2 separate regions of the Homo sapiens genome follow, and region 1 is linked to region 2. The links are contacts of gene promoters, found by promoter capture Hi-C in blood cells and fetal thymus (Javierre and others, 2016). All regions are on one chromosome and are shown on one strand. Each heading gives the region's core, a stretch centred on a gene start or on the middle of the fragment in contact. The rest is flanking DNA. Distances are from core to core; before and after follow the strand shown.

Region 1 (4,771 bases), core at 2,109-4,608, 480 kb after region 2:
TGCCTTCATTTCCTGCGTTAGGAGATATATTTTAGTGAACTTCATAGCCCTCCACAGGGCCTACTAAGCAGTGAAAATATCATTGTGATTTTTTTTTTGTATAAGTCAAAAACTTATACAAAACTTATAAAGCTGTATTATATGAAATTGTATGATAGCTATACAGTAAACTATTAATTAGAAACCTTCCTTGAATTATGAAAATTGCAGATCTCAACAGATTTTTTCGCTCAATGGCTGCTTGAAGTTCTACTCACACAGTACATTCGAAAAATTCTGTGAATTGAAATGAGGCATTCAGTTCAGAGTGAATTTTGTGTTTGCATGTGTCAACTTTTGCACATATTCTAATTTATTTGAGTAGGCAAAACAGACTTTCTACAATTCCCATGAAAGATGAAGGTGCTAAAGAGCACAGTTATTAAGTAAAAGTGCTATGAAAGAGAAGTAAAAGTGAGAATTCCTGAAACTACACCGATAGTGAAATGGCTGACATCTCCCTGTGAGACACTGATTTATGTGATTTCTAGTTGGTACCAAAGTGTTCTGTTTTATAGAGCTAATTATTTTACTTTGTTCTTTGCCTCAGATGATGCCCCCTCCCCCATAAGAAGCAAGCTAATGTTTGAAAGGTTACTTCAATAGCTTTCTAAATTGACTGGTTCTCTTACACAATAGCCATGAACTGTGGTAAAATAGTCTATTTAATTTACTCATTCATTAGACAAAGACTAACAGTGATTTAGAAGTGAACAAGTTTTTCCTACACAGAAGAACCTTATATTCAAAAGAAGGCAGACTATATGTATCCAAAAACTACAATGCAAGGCTTAATATACAATGATAAATGCAATAGAAGTAAAGCAAGCTGTAGGACTTGAGAAGACAGAGAGACGATATAAGTGGTATTATATTTTAAAGACACCATATTTTCTAAATAATCTTATGCAAATTGGTATTTCATTACATATATTGTACTGTGAGTAAAATATAACAAGACATTATTTTATGATTTCATGCATAAATTGCTATAGAGATGAAATGTTGATAATTGACATGTTCGGGGGCATGCTCATTCATATTTACAAGTAAAGTGGAATGGAGGACTAATGCTAATCTATTTCCACTTGGCAAATTTCATTAGAAAAGTATTATTGTGTTATTTAAAGTTGAAAATCCTATAGAGTGTTTGCAATTTTTGCAGTAGTGACATTCTTTTTTTCATATGCTTATGGGAACAGCATATAGGAACAGCATTTTGAACTTCAAAATGCTAAATTGTATACACTTTAATTTTAAAATAAACTATAGCTATTTCTTTAGAATTTAGAACTGAATTCTTCTTAAGAAAACTGGAGAAAACTGGAGTATTGCAAATCATATTTACAAATCACTGTCTTAGGCAATATTTGTTTTGTGACATTCATAAACTTGGTAGAAAAAGGAAGTTGGACAGAATTACTCTGCACACTCCACTTAACAGTTTACTCTTACCTATATATCTCTAGGGTAATAGAAAATGTAAACCAAAGTAAAAGTTACATAGTAAATATGGCTATTTTAATTTTTGTGGTGTTAACCTAGTAAAGGGTATTAACATATTCTTGTTTGATTAATATGCTCAACATGTTGAGATAGAAAAACCAGAACTTTGTGTAAAAGTACTTTTGGAAAATTGCCCCTAACATTGGAGGAGGGCTGTGATTTAAAGCAAATGCCTAATATGTTGTTTTTAAAAGACAATTTGAGGATTTGTGTAGATTGCAATAGGACAGTTTATAATTTTCTTTTACAAACAATTTGCTTTTAAAGTCTGTTATTGATATTTCTTAAGGATTGAAAAAGAAAGTACATTTCATAGAGGATTATGAAAAATACCGTCTGTGTCATCTCTCATAAAATGAAATATGCAAGCTCTAGTATGATTTGGGATTGACATAGCAATAGTACTTATTGGTTTAAATCTGAAATGAAATGAACAGTTTTTTTTTACATTATTCAAGTAAATTAATTATAACCTGAAATATGAGATAAAAAACCAATTGTTAAAATTTAGCATTAGTGATTAAATAGAATATTCATTTTCAAACTAAGATTATTCCTTTTATTCCTTATTCATTTTATTCAGTTCTCTTTCCATAGTGTCATTCTGAAAAAATATCACTTAGATAACAACAAAACTTAGGTGACATTTAGGAAGATCCCACACAACCAAGATAGAACAGACAGTGTGCCATATTGGTGTTATGCAGACAATTTGGGGTAACAATACACTCTCATCTTCTGATTCCTAAATATAATTGCATTTTAATATTGCATACCTTTGTGATTCTGAGATGATATAATAGTATACTTTTCACTATTCCAGCACCTGCATTTCTGAATAATCTTTTAAATTTGAGTTATTCATTAAAATGTCTTGGAGTGTATAAATATTACTAATTAATAGGAGTGAATTAATTATATTATCCAGCATTATTTTTGAGTGAGCAGTACCACATTCTGGGAAGTCTTCCCTGTATTTGATTTTTTTTTCCCCCTCTTCTCCAGAACAAAAAGAGAGTAAATGTGAGTCATGCCAGAATGGACAAGAAGAACTGATCTCCAAATCCCATCAGCTTTACCTAGGATCATCTTCTAGGTCTAATGGTGTCATTGGGAAACAAAGTATCGGGTCATCTATTTCAGAATACTCCAACAAGCCTGATAGTATCCTGTCTCCTCATCCTGGAGAGCAATCAGGAGGTGAAGAGAGTCCCAGGTCCTTATCATCCTCTGATCTGGAATCAGGAAATGAAAGTGAATGGGTCAAAGACTTGACTGCGACCAAGGCAAGCCTTCCGACAGTGTCCTCAAGACCAAGAGATCCTCTTGATATCCTTACTAAGATTTTCCCAAATTACAGGCGCAGCCGGCTAGAAGGCATTCTACGGTTCTGCAAAGGGGATGTGGTCCAAGCCATTGAACAGGTTTTAAATGGCAAAGAACACAAGCCAGACAACAGGAACCTAGCAAACTCAGAAGAACTGGAAAACACAGCCTTTCAGAGAGCTTCAAGTTTTAGTCTTGCTGGAATTGGTTTTGGAACTCTAGGTAATAAATCAGCTTTCTCTCCTCTTCAAACTACTTCTGCTTCTTATGGAGGTGATTCAAGTCTCTACGGCGTAAATCCTAGAGTAGGTATCAGTCCATTAAGGCTGGCATATTCTTCTGCAGGAAGAGGGTTATCTGGTTTTATGTCACCCTACCTAACACCTGGGTTAGTACCAACCTTACCTTTTCGGCCAGCTTTGGATTATGCCTTTTCAGGGATGATTAGAGATTCTTCCTACCTTTCCAGTAAAGACTCAATAACTTGTGGCAGACTGTACTTCAGACCAAATCAGGACAATCCGTAATGTATATGCCCATTCTCTCTTTCTGGAGTTTTTCCAGCATACAATACATGCACGTGCACACACATACACACACATCCATTAATATACTTCAGTAAGTATGTGAGTGGATTATGAGGTCTTAAAATGCTGGGTTTTTTTTTTTTCAAGCAATATAATAGGTCTTAGATCTGAAAACTCTTCATTAGGATTTATCAAGTGAAAGAAGTAAATCTGAACATTATATGTGCCTTGAATAAAGCTATTTCAGGAAATATTTAATGAATTTTCTCCCTAAATTATCATTTGTAAACATTTTTATTTTAAAACTAGTTTTTATTTTATTGAAAAGTGGAATTTTTAGTGATAAAATACATTTGTAAGTGTAAAGCAATACAGCATAATAGAATAGAATATAAACCGAAAGGAAGAACTGAACAATTAAGGCAATTCTAAATAATTACCATTTCAAAACTGTTTCTTCTATTCCTGGTTCATAGGAAAGAAAAAAGTTATTCAAAGTATTTTTAAAGCATTTGATTTGCAGATGGGTGATTCGTAATAAATAAAACATTTGAGCATTTTGAATTTATATTTCCTGAGTATTTTATTTTTCAATCTTAGCTTCCATGAGTGAAAACAAGTGCCATTAAAAAACATTTCTCTTTAAAGTTGACACTGTGTCTATGAAGTAAATTTTAGGAAATAAGACTGCGCCATCTCCTGGCCACTATCGCCAATTGCAACTGAGCTCTGTAGAGTATATGAATTAGAAACATTGATTCCGGAGAATAACCATTTTTTTTTCAAATAGTCATTTTGGATTATACTACATTAAAATTTCCATACTGTAAAGTGCACATCTACTGTGGATGAGAGTTGCAGTCTTTAAGTGTGCTTATGTCTGTATCTGGGGAAATATCCTTAAAAGTTTGGGACAAGAATATATGGCAGCCATTCTCAAAGGTAAGAATAATTTTATTCAGAAAACTAAAATAGCTGCTCAAATAAATATTTATTAACTGCAGATAGTTGATGCTTAATGCACTGAGGAGAGATATAAGATTTCCAAAGGGGAAAAACTGCCATGAAGTTTCAGAGGTATTCTTGCAATTTTAAAAATAATTTTTGTCCTCCCTCTGGCGCATTTGAAAACTATTTATTTCAGTCAGTGGAAAGTCCCTGAGGAAACTGCTTACAAAACAGTTTCTAGGACATTTTCTTTGTATGTCATCATTTTTCTTTTTTGAAGGACAGTAGCTTCATTGTTATTATTAGGAATAAATGGAAGCCCACTGGTGGTAAAAGATAGTTGATGAATTAGAGATTGTTTAAACTATTTAAGCAGCATGACTCACTAAAGATTTTTTAAATTATATGTATATACGTATGTGTGT
Region 2 (4,804 bases), core at 2,305-4,804:
GTTCTTTTTGCTTAGTCTTACTTTGGCTGTGCAGGCTCTTTTTTGGTTTCATATGAATTTTAGAATTGTTTTTTCTAATTCTGTGAAGAATGATGGTGGTATTTTGATGGGGATTGCATTGAATTTGTAGATTTTTTTGGCGGTATGGTCATTTTCACAATATTGATTCTGCTCATCCATGAGCATGGGATATGTTTCCATTTGTATGTTGTCTATTATTTGTTTCAGCAGTGTTTTGTAGTTTTTCTTGTAGAGGTCTTTTGACTCCCTGGTAAGGCATATTCCTAAGTATTTGATTTGATTTGATTTTTTTTTTTTTTTTTTTGCCGCTACTGTAAAAGGGGTTAAGTTCTTGATTTGATTTTCTGCTTGGTCGCTGTTTGTGTATAGAAGAGCTACTGATTTGTATACACTAATCTTGTATCCAGAAACTTTGCTGAATTCTTTTATCAATTCTAGTAGCTTTCTGGAGGAGTCCTTAGGGTTTTCAAGGTAAACGATCATATCATCAGCAAACAGTGACAGTTTGACTTCCTTTTTACTGATTTGGATACCCTTTTTATTTTTCTCTCTCATCTGATTGCTCTGGCTAGAACTTCCAGTACTATGTTGAAGAGGAGTGGTGAGAGTGGGCATCCTTGTTCCAGTTTTCAGAGGAAATGCTTTCAACTTTTCCCATTCAGTATTATGTTGGCTGTGGGTTTTCATAGATGGCTTTTATTACATTAAGGTATGTCCCTTGTATGCCAATTTTGCTGAGAGTTTTAATCATAACAGGATGCTGAATTTTGTCAAATGCTTTTTCTGCATCTATTGAGATGATCATGTGATGTTTTGTTTTTAATTCTGTTTTCGTGGTGTATCACATATGTTAAATCATCCCTACATTCCTGGTATGAAACCCACTTGATCATGTCATGGTGGATTATTTTTTGATATGTTGTTGGATTCTGTTAGCTAGTATTTTGTTAAGGATTTTAGCATCAATGCCCAACAAGGATATCAATCTGTAGTTTTTAAATGTGCTTTTCTGGACCGGCACGGTGGCTAAGGCCTGTAATCCCAACACTTTGGGAGGTCGAGGAGGGCGGACCACTTGAGGTCAGGAGTTCGAGATCAGCCTGGCCAAAATGGTGAAAATCCGTCTCTACTAAAAAGGTGTTGTGGCGGGCGCCTGTAATCTCAGCTACTGAGGAGGCTGAGGCAGGAGAATCGCTTGCACCCGGGAGGCGGAGGTTGCAGTGAGCCGAGATCGCACCACTGCACTCCAGCCTGGGCGACAGAGAAAGACTCCGTCTCAAAAAAAAAAAAAAAAAAAAAAAAGTTGTTTTCTGCTATTTCCTGAACTTTATTACGTAAATGAGACACGTGAGATCTGGAAGGAGGTGGAGGTGAAGACCCTCCCACCTGGCCTGCATCCAGAGTACTTGGGGTGTGGCACTGGCGTGGGCCCCAGGAAGGATCCCAGCCAGTTTTGGTGCTGGAGGCCCGGCCAAAGGAAGGGCTGCTCTCCCGTCCCGCGGGCTCCGAGGTCGCCGCACCCGGGCGCGCCTGGGCCTCGTCACCCGCGCTCGTGACGCGTGCTTACAAAGGAAACTTTTACAGGTTTCGGTGGGCAGGGCCTTTTATTGCCCTTCTGCTCCACAGCCCCCGTGCTTAATCGGTTGGTTGGGAGGTTTCTTTCGTCCGTGGTTTTGGAAAGTCCCCGCCTCCAAACCGCAGTCCCGCAGTCAGTTCTGCAGCCTCAGGGCCTCGAACAGCCATGCTTAGAATCCGTCCTTCTTTCCTGCTCCATCTACCCTTCCCCTCTGGCTTCTTTTTTTTCACTGGAGAAAGCCCACCCGAGTCTCTCAGCCTGCTTCGGAGGTTACTGCGGCCTCCTCCACGGGTAGTTCTGGGACCCGGGTCTAGTCCGCGGTTCCGGAGCAGGTCCCTCCCTGGAGTCGTCAGGCCCAGTATGCGTGTGCTCAGTGTGCTCGGGAAACACGCGTGGGCTTTAACAGCAGATCTCCATAAAAGGGTCCCGGAGATAGCCTCTGCCTGGCCCGAGGCCCAGTGCCTCAAAGCGGACGCCTTTGCGCTCCCGGAGGTGCTCACACCACAGCGGAGCCTGCTGGCGAGTGGAGCGTAGGACTGCGAACCAGCAATCTCCCGAGAAGCGGCGAGGGGGAGGGGAATGTCTGTGAATCGGTTATCCCTCCCACCCCCAGCAGAAGTCGGGGAAATGGGGGTGGAAGGGGGAAAAAGGGAGAGAACAGGAGTGGGGTTGAGGAAGGGTAAGGAGGAAGGTGAGCTTCCTACAGCTGCGGGGGAAGGTGGAGAAAATTTTCAGGGGGACAGCTGAGTGGTAGAGCTAGCGAGCTTCAGAGAAATGTTGACAGACAGATGCCCAGAAAGTGAGGATGCCGGGCATGGGCACTGCGTACCAGGCACAGGAGATATATGGAGGCAGGAAATTGGCACATCATAAGCATTTGACCATCCTGCCCTAAAACAAAACAAATTGAACAACAACAACAACAAAAGATAATAGCAAAAGTGGCACAGTAGTGAGCTCGCAGGGCCCATTCCTATATAGAAACACAGAAAAATAAGCAAAAGCTGCCAGAATTGACTTCGTGGGAACTCTGGGAAACAGTAAGAAAGTTTTACAGCAACCAAGTGAGTGCTGAACCAAGGCAAAGGTAACTGAAACGCAATGATAGAGAAGAGGGGCAGGGAAGTGTTGGGTAGACAAAGGCGGGTCCCTGGTAAGGGCCCTCCCCTGGGCCTGTGCCCACTGGACCTAGGTGAGGACAGGCACTCCTTCCTTCACGCCCAAATGTTGCATATCCCAAGACCACCCTGTCCCGCCACGCCCCCATCCTTTGCCTATGAAAACCCTGAGACCCTAGCAGGCAGACACACAAGCGGCTCTATGTCCAGAGGAACTCATCGGAGGAACTGGACGTGGAGCGGGGCACCCCAGCGGAAGGGAGCACGCCAGTGGAAGAGCACACTGACAGACCATAGGAGTCAGTCTGTTATATTATCATAGTATAATATTATAAAATTATTATAATACAATAAAAATATAAAAATATAAATAATGTAATAAATATGGATAAAAATAATAATTACATATTTATATTTATATGAGAACACTATGAATAATTTTAAGCCAAAAAACAACTCGATGTTCATCACTGGATGAGTAGACGAGCAATTTCCAGTATATTCATACAATGGAATATGATTCAGCCATAAAATGAAATGAGGTACTGATACATGCTGCAGCAGGAATGAACCCCCAAAACACTACACTTGGTGAAAGAAGCCAGACACGGAAGGTCACATATTGTATGATCCCATTTATAAGAAATATTCAGAATAGGTAAATCCATAGAGACAAAAGGAGTTTTGTAGTTGCCAGGAGTTGGAGGCAAGAAGAGTTTAACAGGTATGCTTAATGGGGCCTCCTATGCAGTTGACGAAAATGTTTTGGGCTAGATAGGAGTGATGGTTGCATAACATTGTACTAAATGCCACTGAATTCTACTCTTTAAAATTTTTAGTTTTATGTTATGTGGCGTGTACCCTAAAAAAAAAAATAGAGGTGCAGTGCTCCAGCACGGGATGAGGCAGCGTGGACAGGAGCATCTCCCAACCTCAGTGAAGTCTGAGCCGCGTGCCTGCAACAATCCCACTGTGGCAGAGAACCGCAGAGTTCCTTCCGGTTTGGCAGCAGTCATTCGCAACCTCACAGCCCTCTGGAACCCCAGCCTGGGGGTCTCAGAACGCCGAGGCGGGGACTGGGAGCCGAGTCGGATTCCGAGACTATGGGCCAGGGTTGGCTGGATTCAGTTACCTGGCTGAGGCCTGGTGAGCAAAATATCCCAAACCTCGCGTGATCTGGAAGGGGAAGCCGGATAAATACGGATCTCCAGATGTGCCAGTCTCGAGTCTATCGATATGAGGTCCCCCTAGAGTTTCTATTCATCATTTTAACCGCATTTCATCGATCTTGAGACACGGCTTTTGATATTTTATCACCTCAAGATAAATAGTGTTAGATGTCTAATAGCAGCGTTTTTCTAAGAGATACATGAAACAACAGTGTCAGAAACGATGCTGTCTTCCATGCGATGAAATTGTTGTAATAGGTGCTCAATAAATGTTGACAATAAATGAGTGAATGAATGAAAATTATTTTATTTTTATTTGAGCTTTGGTTCTGCCATTTGCTAGCAGTGTGACTCAAGAGAAGCCAGTAACCCCCCTGAGCTTCCCTAGTTCACAAAATGCTTGTCATGAAGTCGACAGCTTCCGGAGGCTGCGAGGCTCGCAAGAAATGCCCACATGAATGTGCGCTTAGGGCGTGAGTGCTCACTCCAGAAAACTCCAACACAGTGAAAAGGCAGAAGCGGTGTTTTTCTTTTTTACATTTTTATAAGAATATATAAAAAATGATATAAATGGACATTTACGGTAGTGGGGGAAGGCATATATCTACGTTAAAAGGCAGGACATTTTTAAAAGCTCTATTTTCTAAATGAAAACTACGAAAGCGGGGTGGGTTGTGGCGGGGGCAGTTGTGGCCCTGTAGGACCTTCGGTGACTGATGATCTAAGTTTCCCGAGGTTTCTCAGAGCCTCTCTGGTTCTTTCAATCGGGGATGTCTGCAGAGGGCAGAAAGAAAACAGGCGTTAGAAACCTGAGGTCAAAGATGTGTGGCACATCCCGCCCTCCTCTCTTGCCGTCCCTACCGGCATTGAAATACTTATGGATAAAGTTCTCGCAATGGCTTCACGTGCATGTACCCGCC

The links. The method cuts DNA at HindIII sites, captures the fragments that hold promoters and counts their contacts. A CHiCAGO score of 5 or more calls a contact.
Region 1: a contact is called between a fragment that was not itself captured here and the fragment with the promoter of CDKN2A-AS1 in region 2, in 3 of 17 cell types (M0 macrophages, naive B cells and total B cells). The highest score is 5.6, in M0 macrophages.

Annotation. Positions count from the first base shown.
Region 1 is chr9:22,448,514-22,453,284 of GRCh38, forward strand. DMRTA1 (DMRT like family A1) reads left to right here. Exons shown (of 2, transcript NM_022160.3): 2 at 2,551-4,771. The coding sequence ends at 3,398. Among named protein-coding and RNA genes, the nearest start is that of DMRTA1, 4.1 kb to the left of the region's middle. The HindIII fragment of the contact is 7,087 bases long and covers 1-4,771 here.
Region 2 is chr9:21,963,585-21,968,388 of GRCh38, forward strand. CDKN2A-AS1 (CDKN2A antisense RNA 1) reads left to right here and starts at 3,555. Exons shown (of 1, transcript NR_024274.1): 1 at 3,555-4,170. CDKN2A (cyclin dependent kinase inhibitor 2A) reads right to left here. Exons shown (of 3, transcript NM_000077.5): 3 at 4,168-4,658. The coding sequence ends at 4,645. The HindIII fragment of the contact is 10,554 bases long and covers 1-4,804 here.